Linked DNA regions of Homo sapiens: all the other regions are linked to region 1. The links are contacts of gene promoters, found by promoter capture Hi-C in human tissues and cell types (Jung and others, 2019). All regions are on one chromosome and are shown on one strand. Each heading gives the region's core, a stretch centred on a gene start or on the middle of the fragment in contact. The rest is flanking DNA. Distances are from core to core; before and after follow the strand shown.

Region 1 (4,336 bases), core at 404-2,903:
GGGAGGCAGCCACAGGTGTGCCAAGGTGTGCTGGGACCATCCTCGGGCCGGGCGAGGGAGCCCCACTGTACCTGCACAGCACAGACGCCACCCTCAAGCCCGGTGCCGGTGCCGAATGGGATGATGGGCACACCTTGGCGATAGCACAGGGCTGCCAGCCGGCTGACCTGCTCCACGTTCTGGGGCCACACCACAGCATCAGGAGGTTCGCACCTAGAACCAGACCCTCAGCGATTTAGCGGGGCGTGACACCCTCTGGTCCCGAGGTGTTGCAGGGCCTGAGGCTACAGCAAGCGAGGGGCAGAGAACATGCCAGAGCACCCCAAAACAGATGAGTGAGGAGGAAGGCAACCCAGCACCCTCTCTCTCAGCTGGGGTTGAATCCAGAAGACAGGGGAGGGGCCCGCGAACCCTCCCATACCTGTGCACCGACTCATCGCGCCCGTGCTGCTCTCGGACCACCGCGGCAGTGGACACGTGGGAGCCGCCCACCACGGCCTTCAGAGCCTCTACGAAGTCCCTGCAGAGCTCTCCCTGCAGGGAAGAAACACACTGCCAGGGTCCCCCGAAAGACACATGGGGCCACAGCCCTGCCCCAGTGTCGGGGGGAGGGCTGGGGGCTGGAGGCTGGAGTGAGCCTCCCCTGCGCCCGCCCCGCTGACAACATCCTTGCCAGGTGGGCCCACTTTAAACAAACCCACTATCCAGAAATGCCTCTTTTCCAAACAGAGCCATTGGGGGTCAAAGTTTCCCCTCAGAAAAAAACGCCACCAGAATTTTTTTAATGTTTTCTTTTTTAATAAAAACAGGGTCTTACTATGTTGCCCAGGATGGTTTCAAACTCCTGGGCTCAAGCGATCCACCTGCCTCGGCCTCCCAAAGTGCTGGGGTTACAGGCGTGAGCCACAGCGCCCAGCCATCCAAATAAAAAACCAGAATTCACTCTCCAAAAAGGCTATCAGCAGGGTTCCTTCAATAGCCAGCCCAGCCTGAGCAACCGAAAAGATCCCTCACTTCCTCCTTTCTCCAGGGCCAACCAAGCACCACCCCAGCCACAGGGAACTCAGAGCTTGATAAGGGAATTAGGGGGAGGAAAAGCTTCCACTGCCCCCTCCCCACTCTACGTTGCCTGGGGCTTCTGGGCCCTTCGTGGGGGGCGGGGCGCGGCGGGGCGGGGGATGTGTTTCTTCCCATTTTACAGATGAGAAATGGAGGCCAAGTTAAGGACAGAGCCTGGCCTGGAACCCAGGCCCTTTCCTTCAGGGCCTTCTTCCACAGGTGTGTTTTATTCCAGGGGCATCCATTTGACTCCCCCAGCCCCACTCATGGTAGCAGTGGGGACTCAGCTGATCTCACTCTACACCCACCCACAGTTGCCACAGGGTAAGCCCAGTGCCCTTTTGCCCAAGGTCAGGTCACTTGGTGCTGGGGCGTCACAGAGCCCAGGAAACTTGGGATCAGAACCCCCTGCTCCCCGCTCCCCACCTCATCCCTCCAGAGGACTTCTCTTCTCTCCCGGTACCTTTGCCTTCTGGGAGCAGTAGCCCCTCCAGGGGAACAGCTCCCAGGTTGCAGACCTGAGCAGTCGGGCCATAGCCAGGCACTGGCCAGAGGGTGTGAGCACTGGGTGGCAGGGTGACCAGTCAGCTACTGTGGCAGCAGCTACTGCTGCTGTCAGCCCATTGGCTAGGCCAGGGGTGGGGCCTGCTTAAGGTGGCACGGGCTTTAAGGTGGCCCTTGCAGATCTTGCAGACATTTTCGTGGGCTCCAGGGACGACACTTCTAAAGGAGAGGCGAGGTTCACTGGACGTTTTGGGAAACTGTAAGGCAAAAATAAAATTCTAAGCCTCCCAACCGACTGAATGGACCTCCCTCTCAGCCCAGGGCATTCCAAAATAAACCTGAAAAATTAATTCAGGCTGTGATGGGAAGAGGTTTAGGACAAGCCTCATTATCCCCCTCCTTCCTTTAGAATTCAGACACAACTGACCAGCATTAACATTAAAACAGAGACCTTAAGGCATTCTGATCTTAAGACACAAAACAGACTCTTTGTAGCAATAAGATACCAAATTCCAACCTGACTCTAGCATCACCTGACAGATAGCAGGCCCTGAAAGAAATCAATGTATTTTACCCCCAAAATATATTCCTCTGATTTTTTTTTTAAATAGCTCCAAAAAGCTGTCTTTTGTGGGGAAAATCTAGAATCTGTAGAGAATCCCCTCCCCTTTCCAGGTTTTTTGTTTTGTTTTGTTTTGTTTTGAGACAGAGTCACTCTGTGGCCCAGGCTGGAGTGCAGTAGCGTGCTGCAACCTCCACCCACTGGGTTCAAGCGATTCTCCTGCCTCAGCCTCCCAAGTAGCTGGGATTACAGGTGCCTGCCACTGTGCCCAGATAATTTTTCTATTTTTAGTAGAGACAGGGTTTCACCATCTTGGCCAGGCTGGTCTTGAACTCCTGACCTCGTGATCCACCTGCCTTGGCCTCCCAAAGTGCTGGGATTACAGGCATGAGCCACCGCGTCCAGCCTCTTTCCAGGTTTTATCCTGATCTAAGGGAGATTTAACTAAGAGTCTGGCACCTTTTAACGCCTTAGACATTTACCATCTATGTTACATAATAAGAACCTTGGGCCGGGTGCAGCGGCTCACATCTGTAATGCCAGCACTTTGGGAGGCCAAAGTGGGAGGATCACGAGGTCAAGAGATAGAGACCCTCTTGGCCAACATGGTGAAACCCCGTTTCTACTAAAAATACAAAAATTAGCTGGGCATGGTGGTACACGCCTGTAGTCTCAGCTACTTGGGAGGCTGAGGCAGGAGAATCGCTTGAACCCAGGAGGTGGAGGTTGCAGTGAGCTGAGATCGCACCACGGCACTCCAGCCTGGCGACAGAGCGAGACTCTGTCTCAAAAAAAAAGAACCTTGGTCTCCACAACTCCTTATCTTAACCCAGATGCTTATTTCTATTGATTCCAGGTTGTCTTTTTTAAAATTTTTTATTTAAAAAAAATTTTGTTGTTGTATACCAAGATTCCAAGTCTTTGGATAATAACTTCTTTCAACCAATTGAAAATCAGAAATTTTTTTTTTTTTTTGAGATGGAGTCTCACTCTGTTGCTCAGGCAGTGGCGTGATCTCAGCTCACTACAACCTCCATCTCCTGGGTTCAAGCTGTTCTCATGCCTCAGCCTCCCAAGTAGCTGGGATTACAGGAGTGCCACCATGCCCAGCTAATTTTTGTATTTTTAATAGAGACAGGGTTTCACCATGTTGGTCCAGGCTGGTCTCGAACTCCTGACCTCAAGTGATCCACCCGCCTTGGCTCCCCAAAATGCTGGGATTACAAGTGTGAGCCACCGTGCCCAGCGCCAATCAGAAAAGTCTTTGAATTCACCTATGACCTGTAAGCTCCTCCCTCAATCAGAAGGAACCAATGCATACCCTGCTTATATTGATTACTGTCTGATGCCTCCCTAAACTGTATAAAACCAGTTGTAACTCAACTGCCTTGGGTACATGTTCTCAGGACCTCCAGGGAATGTGTCACAGGTCATGGTCTTCATGTGAGTGGTGGGAAATCCATACAGGTCTACATAAAACTCAATGCTTGCCTCATCAGAAGAAAGAATTCTACTGAAGAGGTCTGAAAGGGAAATATCTTGAGCCCCCAAAATTACTAAGCTAAAGGGAAAAGTCAAGCTGGGAACTGCTTAAGGCAAACCTGCCTCCCATTCTTTCAAAGTCACCCCTCTGATCACTGAGCTAAATGCATATCTGATTGCCTCCTTTTGAGAGGATAATTAGAAACTCAAAAGAATGCAAACATTTGTCTCTTATCTACCTATGACCGGGAAGCCCCCTCCCTGTCTTTCCAGACCCAAACAATGTTCATCTTACGTATGTTGAGTGACGTCTCAAGTCTCCCCAAAATGTATAAAACTAAATTGTGCTCTGACCACCTTGGGGACATGTCATTGGGATCTCCTGAGGCTGTGTCACACCATCATCATTGGCAAAATAAACTTTCTAAATTAACTGAGACCTTTCTCAGATTTGGGGGGTTCATATTTTGGTAACCACAGAAGAATTCTGACTGGAGGCGCCCCTGACCTTTGACAAAGCTATCAGTGCTTGGTACCAGCTTGAGCTATCTTTATGGCTCAAACCAATAGGACAATTTGCTGAGGCCCGGAAGCACACCCTCCAGAGAATACCTTATCTTTCAAAATCTGGTCAAGATCTAAAGTTCATTTTGTTGTACAACTCCTCTTTTTTTTTTGGAGTTTTACTTGCTTCTAACACAAGGAAGGCAAATTTTTCCTGCTTCCATG
Region 2 (4,336 bases), core at 662-3,161, 460 kb before region 1:
GAATCGCTTGAACCCGGGAGCCAGAGGTCCTGGTGAGCTGATACTGCGCCACTGCACTCCAGCCTGAGTGACAGAGCAAGACTCTTGTCTTAAAAACAAAAAAAAAACCCAGAGTAATATGCATTTGCAACTCTTGTCAACACAGAACTAGGCATCTGTCATCCTTGATGGGCACTACAGACACTGGAGCCACAGTCATGGCAAGCCCCAACATTAAAATCAGCAGGATCCATGAAAAAGAATGCTGAATCCAGATACAGAAGGCACAATTCCAATTCCAGCCTTATCACAACCAAATCACAAATTATCCCATCAGCTTCCTCATTTGTAAAACATGGGTAATAGATGACCTAGCTACCACTTTTTAGTATCATCTCAATATTTTCACAGTGTTAGAAAACATCGGCATGGTTGCGTATGCCTGTAGTCCCAGTTAATCATCAAGAGGCTGAGGTAGGAAGATCGCCTAAGCCTGGGGAGGTCGAGGCTGCAGTGAGCTGTGATTGCACCACTGCACTCCAGCCTGGGGAGCACAGTGAGACCCTGTCTCAAAAATAACAATAATAAAAACAAGAAGAAAGAGAAAACAAAGGGATTTCGTCGAAGCTTCCTCCATCTGCCTATGTAGAAAACAGGGCAGATCCAGGCTCCAATATCAGTGCTAACTCCTCTATTCTATAGTTATGAGACCCTGAACAAAGCCCTCTCTGAGCGGAGATCGCACCACTGCGCTCCAGCCTGGGCGACAGAGTGAGACTCCATCTCAAAACAAAACAAAACCAAAAACAGACAGGTTTAATTAGTTAGGTGTGGTGGCACGCGCCTGTAATGCCAGGTACTGGGGAAGCTGAGGCAGGAGAATCGCTTGAATCTGGGAGATGGAGGTTGCAGTGAGCAAAGATTGTGCCACGGGAATCCAGCCTGGACGACAGAGTGAGACGCTGTCTCAAAAACAAAAACAAAAAACCAAAAAACGGACAGGGTATAGGCAATTGTTATTCTTCATAATAACCCTGTCAAGACTTGACAGCTAAGCCCTTCAAGAGGCAAGTTCAAACCAAGACTATGAAAGAAAATTAATTAATTGTGCCCCCAGGTGGAATGCCAGTGAATAATGAATTTGGGTGAGTAGAGACTTGCAAGTGAAGAAAGAATTTTTGGTGTACAAGACACAATCTGAACAACAGCCAATCTCTACAGAGATTGCCAACAAACTACCACCTAGTTTTCAAGGCACAACAGTTTAACTTATCCCTTCATTACTTTGTGAAGTAAGGCAAGCACTTTTATTTCCACCTATGAGGAACTGGGGGTCAGAAGTTACCTGACTTGCCAAAAGTCACACTGTCAGTCCTTGAATGGCAGAGCCTCAGTTTCATAATTTCTAGTACAGCAATGATCACAGACTTATCCATATATTTATTTACCTGGCACTGTCTGTCCTCTGAGACCCTCCGGCTCTTGCCCTCCGTGAAGCAGATACCCTCCTTCTTGTTCTCATTGGCCCTACACTGTGGTTTGAAGATGAAGGTCTCAGGAATTCCAGCATGCCATGAAGTCTCTGCAGTCCGCTGATGAAGTTGGTCATTGAATGCAACGAAGATGCTGGGATGGTGTGATTACCATCAGATCCCTGCCTATGTTGTTCTGAAGTTCTTGGATTGATGTTCTCCACAGTGTCTTCTCCCAAGACCTCCACTTCTGTCAGGTCAACAGACAGTTGCGGAGCAGGCTGGAGCAGGGGTGGTGTCGCTTGGCTGCTGATCACCTCAGCAGGAGCTGGCTGGAGGATGGATGGTACCCCCTGGCTGCTGACCACATCAGCAGGAACAGGCTGGAGGAGGGCTGGTCCCCCTTGGCTGCTGGCCATGCCAGCAGGAGCTGGCTGTTGTTCGGCATGATTTAACTGCACCTGAACATCATATTCCATTGCTTCATGAGCCATCACTAGAGAAACAGTATTTGTAAAAAGTATTAATAAAATAGATAAAACATGCTATGTAGGTGACAGAATCATATTTAATCTTTCTGATTTTATGTTTAATATCATTCTTAGCAAGACTGAGAAGCTTCAAGAGAAGATTTTAACTACTTAAGTCAGAAGTGTTTGGTAATGGACTTTCCTCTCTATAACAAGCATTTATAACCAGTTTTCCGGTTTGCCCTTAGAAAACATGAAGTCCTGTGATCATAGTAGTATCTTCCAAAATAGAAAGATCTATAAACCAAGGAGATTAAACTACTGGGTCTAAAAGTAATCTCTCAGACACTTTGCAGTTCTCTCAAGCTGAATATGGACATTCACCAAAATCAAATGCATATAATGCAGTATCTAATTTTAGCAGGCAATATTAATCTTTCACAGCATCAACAGTTACAAGGGATAAATAGAGAAAGGACATTTTTTACACTTGCAAAATTAACTGTTACTAACTCAAAATGGAAACTTACCTAATGTTTCCAAAAAGGCTGAGCAAACTTTATCCTATCCCTTTCATTATTTTTGTTTTCCATCTCTAATTCCATCATGTTAGCGTATTCAACAAATATTTATTAAGCACCTATGTTCTTTTCATGTTTCCTATCTTTAATTCCATTGTATCAGTTTGAAAACTACCACCTAGTTTTTAAACTAAAAAAAAAAATTTTTTTTTGTTATATAGATGAAGGCTTCCTATGTTGCCCAAACTGGTCTTGAATGCCTGGCCTTACCTCCTCATGCATCAGGACAACAGGACTGAGCCACTGTGCCTCCCTACCACCTAGTTTTTAAAGTACATCAGTATAACTTATCCCCTTAATTACTTTGTGAAGTAAGGCACGTGCTTTTATTTTCATCTGACTTATGAGGAAATGGGGGTTCAACTAATAGTTATTAAGCACCTGTTATGCAGACAAGACACCCTAGAGGCAAAAACAGATAAGACCCCATGTATCAGAGTTTAGATTCTAGCAAGTAAGATGTCAATAAACAAATACATGAAAAAAATTATAGATTATGATGTTTGGGGTTGAGGAGACAAAGAGGACCAACTAAGACACAATTGTGAGGGAAGTACTCTTTTAAAGAGTGAAAATTGGGCTGAGGCATGAAGGATTAAAAGCAGCTGGCTATGCAAAGAGCCAAGAAGAGTCTCAGAAGGAAATCAGTGCATAGGTCCCTGATGAGCATGGGTTTCACTGATGAACAGGACACCATTATTAAAGGGCCTATGGGCCTTGGTAAGGAGTTTCTTCTATGTTAGGAATGCACTGTAGGGGTGCAAGAGCATAAGCTAGGTGACCAGTGTAGAGGCTATTGTGGGAGTCCAGACCAGAGGTCAGAGAGACCTAGGCAAGAGTGGTAGCAGTGGAGATGAAAACAAACAGACAGCTTTAAGAATCTTCAGAATGGTCATGCTTCTTTTTTTTTTTTTTTGAGATGGAGTCTCGCTCTGTTGCCCAGGCTGGAGTGCAGTGGCGCGATCTCGGCTCACTGCAAGCTCCGCCTCCCGGGTTCACGCCATTCTCCTGCCTCAGCCTCCCGAGTAGCTGGGATTACAGGTGCCTGCCACCACGCCTGGCTAATTTTTTGTATTTTTAGTACAGCCGGGGTTTCACTGTGTTAGCCAGGATGGTCTCGATCCCCTGACCTGGTGATCTGCCAGCCTCAGCCTCCCAAAGTGCTCGGATTATAGGCATGAGCCACCGCGCCCGGCCAATACTCATGTTTCTTAAAATCATCAAAGCAGATTAAACCACCTGAGGAACAGAATGACAGAAGAGGGCTGAAGACTAAAGTCAGAGACACTACTGTTAAAAGTACAACAGAGTAAAAGAAGCCAGTTAAGGAAGATTATAAAGTAGGAGGAAACATGGGAATGTGGTGTCTTGGAAAAACAATGTTTCAAGGAAGGAACAATTGAGTGTCAAGTGCTACTGGGGGGAAGAACGGCCGCTAGATTTGGCAACATGAGGATGACAGGTGACCTAAAAAAGCAGTTTCCCTGAAGTGGTGGGGTCAGAGGCCAGACTGGTGCAGGCTGAATAAATGGAAGGAATTCTAATAAACATAGTGGACGAAGTACATATATGTATCTTTCTCTCTCCACTCCAGTCATTCCTAAAACCCACGAACATGACCCCCACAACCTGAGACATTTTTTTAAGAAAGGATAAATTAACCAGGACGACACAAATGCAAACAGGGTATGATATGCAAACCAGTTTTTTAAGGCCATAAAGGAGAAACTGATGATTGATGACTGCTTAGCAGAGCCAAAAGATAAAACTCAAAGCCTGCAAAGGGCACAGTGGTTGGGGTGAGGTGTGTTATTGAGAAGCAAGCTGATTCCCA
Region 3 (4,336 bases), core at 910-3,409, 430 kb before region 1:
TGCCCCCAGGACTAGGACCATGCGCTTGCCAAGTGTGAGGTCTTTTTCCCTATCCAACAGCTCCCTCAGGGTCCCGAGTTCACAGTACTCCATGACAATGGAGAATTGAGGCGGAGTCACTGGTGGAAAGGAGCCAGACACTATGAGGACCCGCCCTACTTGAAGCTTCCCATGTCTGCAGCCCACCTCTCCCAGCCTCGGTACAGATACAGACTTGGCTCTGCTGAGTCCCATTTCTCCCCCAATCCTCAGCCCACAGTTTTGGTCCCCGGCCTCCTTGAATGGACCAAATATGCCCAGAATTCCCATCCTCTTCTCCATAATACTTGGCTTGTCGTAATTCTACCTTAAAAAAAAAATTGGCTGGGTGCGTTGGCTCATGCCTGTAATCCCAGCACTTTGGGAGACCAATGTGGGTGGAACACAAGGTCAGGAGTTTGAGATCAGCCTGGCCTACGTGGTGAAACCATGTCTCTACTAAAAATACAAAAATTAGCTGGGTGTGGTGGCAGGTGCGTGTAATCCCATCTACTTGGGAGGCTGAGGCAGGAGAATCACTTGAAGCTGCGTGGCAGAGATTGCACCACTGCACTCCAGCCTGGGCAACAGAGTGACACTACATCTCAAAAAAAAAAAAAAAATGTTCTGCCAGGTGTGGTGACTCACGCCTGTAATCCTGGCTCTTTGGGAGGCTGAGGCTGGTGGATCACTTGAGGCCAGGAGTTCGAGACCAGCCTGGCCAACATGATGAAACCTCGTCTCTATGAAAAATGCAAAAATTAGCCAGGTGTGGTGGGACATGCCTGTAGTCCCAGCTATTAGGGAGGCTGAGGCAGGAGAATTGCTTGAACCTCGGAGGTGGAAGCTGCAGTAAGCATATTGTACCACCGCACTCCAGCCTGAGTGACAGAATGAGACTCTGTCTCAAAAAAAAAAAAAAAAAATTCTTTTTCTTTTTCTTTTTTAACTTCTATCTCCCTTTCTTGGTATAATTCAAAATTTTCTTGAGCAGTTATTTGGCGAATGTCTTCCTCACTCAACTGGATTCCCAAGAAGGCAGGAAATGTGTCTGTCTTGTTCACATGGGTGCTCACAAGAAGCTTCGTACATCTGTGTGGGAGGAATGAGTAGGGCACACATGGCAGGGGCGGGTGAGGACTCAGACAAGAAGTCGACTTCCCCATTCATGGGCCTGAGCTGCAAAACTGACATGTGACTGAGCCAGGCACCTCAGCGGTCCCCAAGGAGAACAAACGTTGCTGAACATTTGTCTTTATTTTTTATTTTTTAATTTTTTTGAGACAGAGTCTAGCTCTGTCACCCAGGCTGGAGTGCAGTGGCATGATATTGGCTCACTGCAACCTCCGCCTCCCAGGTTCACGCAATTCTCCTGCCTCAGCCTCCCGAGTAGCTGGGACTACAGGCACCCACCACCACGCCCAGTTAATTTTTATATTTTTAGTAGAGACAGGGTTTTATCATGTTGGCCAGGCTGGTCTCAAACTCCTGACCTCAGGTGATCCACCTACCTTGGCCTCCCAAAGTGCTGGGATTACAGATGTGAGCCACCGTGCCTGGCCTACGTTTCCCTTTAGATTGGGATTCCACACTCTGAAATCAAGTTGGCCTGAGGCTGTGGAGCAACTTCCAAAGGGGATAAGACAGGAGTTGCTCTGTCCAATCTCTAGGCAAGACGGCAGCAAAACATGACCAGCAGGAGGGGTCATTCCATGAGAGAAAATGCAGTCACATTGGGAAAAAAAGAAAAAAAAAAAAAAAAAAAGAGCCTGTCACATAAGGCTCTTGGTAGAGGGGTAAAGTAATGGTTTTTTTTTTTGTTTGTTTGAGACAGAGTCTCACTCTGTCACCCAGGCTGGAGTGCAGTGGCATGATCTCGGCTCACTGCAAACTCCGCCTCCCAGGTTCAAGCAATTCTCCTGCCTCAGCCTCCCGAGTAGCTGGGACTAGAGGCATGTGCCACCACATCCGGCTAATTTTTTGTATTTTTAGTAGAGACGGGGTTTCATCATGTTGGCCAGGACGGTCTCAAGCTCCTGACCTTGTGATCCACCCACCTCAGCCTCCCTAAGTGCTGCTGAGCCACAGCGCCTGGCCAGGTAAGTTAATTTTGCTTTTAGATTTGTTCTATACTAATGATGACCAAGGGTGTTTTCCTTCTTTGGGTCAGACAGCTTTATAATTTATTTTTATTTTTGAGACGGAGTCTTGCTCTGTTGCCCAGGCTGGAATGCAATGGTGCACCCTCAGCTCACTGCAACCTCCGCTTCCCAGGTTCAAGCAATTCTCCCACCTCAGCCTCCCGAGTAGCTGGGACTACAGATGCCTGCCACCAGACCCAGCTAATTTTTGTATTTTAGTAGAGATGGGGTTTCACCATGTTGGCTGGGCTGGTCTTGAACTCCTGACCTCAAGTGACCTGCCTGTCTCGGCTTACCAAAGTGCTGGGATTACAGGTGTGAGCCACTGCACCTGGCAGCTTTATAATGTTTTAGAGCAACAAGATGCACCCCTCTTCCAGGCTGGCATCTAAACATGCACCCCCTTATTTCCCAGTGGGCTGAAAGGAGAAGATGTGGCCATGTTAGTGCAAACCACCCCTCAGCCTTCAGCCCTGCCCTCCTGAAAGAAGATGAGAACATGCATCTTGGGATGAAAAAAAAAAAATTAACATTGATAATAATCACACTTTGTGGATTCCACCCTTTGTGATGTTCTTTAAAAAAATGCAACACATTAAAACACAGGAGGTGTGTTCTAGGCCATCCAAAGCTTGACCAATCCTAGAAGCATTCCTTACCTGTTTCATCAATGCAAATCCCAAATATACGCAGGATGTTGGGAGATTCGAATTTCTTCATGGTTTTGATCTCCTTATTGAAAGTCTGCCTCACTATTCTATAAGGATTAAAGAGAGAAATCAGGATTTCAGAACTGGAAGGTTCCTTAGAGAACATTCAGTGTGGTGACCCTCTGTGTATGTGGGGGCGGGGGTATCAGCATCTGGGGTGAGAACTGGTGCCAGGATGAACTCAGCTACTGATAACAACATGTGGAACCCCTCAGGTGCCTGTGGCAGCACAATTAGTCCCTCGGGGTCTGTCAGATATTAATGGGACTTGCTAATATCTTTTCAGTAGTTCAAATAGTCTGATAGAATTGTATTTTTATGACCTACAGGGCTTTACTAGGCAAACTAAAAAGTCAAGTATTTGTTACTGTTTTTAGGCTGTAACCTGTTGTTTAGCATATACTCTGACAGATTGTGGTGTGTGTCTTTTTTTTTTTTTTGGAGACAGGGTCTTGCTTTGTCACCCAGGCTGGAGTGCAGTGGTGCGATCTTGGCTCACTGCAGCCTCCACCTCCCAGGTTGAAGCAATTCTCATGCCTCAGCCACCTGAGTAGCTGGAACTACAGGTGCGTGCCACCATGCTTGGCTAATTTTTGTATTTTTTTTGCAGAGACATGATTTCACCATGTTGGCCAGGCTGGTGTCAAACTCCTGGCCTCAAGTGATTTGCCTGCCTACGCCTCCCAAAGTGCTGGGATTTCAGGTGTGAGTCACCGTGCCCAGCCCGTGGTGTGTGTCTTTGATGAATAAAAATAATGATACTAGGCCGGGCGTGGTGGCTCATGCCTGTAATCCCAGCACTTTGGGAGGCCGAGGCAGGTGGATCACAAGGTCAGGAGTTCGAGACAATCCTGCCGAACATGGTGAAACCCCGTCTCTACTAAAAATACAAAAAAATTAGCTGGGTGTGGTGGCGGGCGCCTGTAGCCCCAGCTACTTGGGAGGCTGAGGCAGGAGAACGGCGTGAACCCAGGAGGTGGAGCTTGCAGTGAGCCGAGATCACACCATTGCACTCCAGCCTGGGTGACAGAACGAGACTACGTCTCCACACACACACAAAAAAAGATATTTATTAAGTGAAATCTTATAACCAAAATTCCTTCCAAAACGTGGGCCTTAAAAAATGTAGGCAGGTAAATTATTAAAGAGGATCACTGGAACCACCAACTCAATCCAATCTGTTCATTCACTCTGAGTCTTAGACTCAAAGGGCAAAGGAGGCTTGTCCAAGGTCTGTCAGAGAATCAGGGCAGGTTCAGAGCCTATAAAAATCAATTGTATTTCTATCTGCTAGCAATTAACAATCAAAAGATTAAATTAAAAATTTTCATTTCCAATAGCATAAAGAGAATAAAATACTTAGGAATAAATTTACAAAAGAAGTGCAAGTCTCACCCTGAAAATTTTGTACCTAAATTGTTGAAAGAATTTTGTTTTGTTTTGTTTGTTTGTTTTTTGAGATGGAGC

What was found. The method cuts DNA at HindIII sites, captures the fragments that hold promoters and counts their contacts. A contact is called where the count stands out against the background at its distance.
Region 2: a contact is called between a fragment that was not itself captured here and the fragment with the promoter of LDHD in region 1, in 2 of the 25 tissues and cell types used here (dorsolateral prefrontal cortex and hippocampus).
Region 3: a contact is called between a fragment that was not itself captured here and the fragment with the promoter of LDHD in region 1, in 1 of the 25 tissues and cell types used here (dorsolateral prefrontal cortex).

What each region holds. Positions count from the first base shown.
Region 1 is chr16:75,115,127-75,119,462 of GRCh38, forward strand. LDHD (lactate dehydrogenase D) reads right to left here and starts at 1,654. Exons shown (of 11, transcript NM_194436.3): 1 at 1,523-1,654; 2 at 422-534; 3 at 72-213. The coding sequence starts at 1,594. It also overlaps a transcript of ZFP1 not described here. RefSeq lists an enhancer at 885-1,179. The HindIII fragment of the contact is 8,282 bases long and covers 1-4,336 here.
Region 2 is chr16:74,659,505-74,663,840 of GRCh38, forward strand. RFWD3 (ring finger and WD repeat domain 3) reads right to left here. Exons shown (of 13, transcript NM_018124.4): 2 at 1,428-1,947. The coding sequence starts at 1,945. Among named protein-coding and RNA genes, the nearest start is that of RFWD3, 5.2 kb to the right of the region's middle. The HindIII fragment of the contact is 6,343 bases long and covers 1-4,336 here.
Region 3 is chr16:74,682,668-74,687,003 of GRCh38, forward strand. It overlaps MLKL (mixed lineage kinase domain like pseudokinase), which reads right to left. Exons shown (of 11, transcript NM_152649.4): 5 at 2,819-2,916; 6 at 1-119. Among named protein-coding and RNA genes, the nearest start is that of MLKL, 16 kb to the right of the region's middle. The HindIII fragment of the contact is 5,809 bases long and covers 1-4,336 here.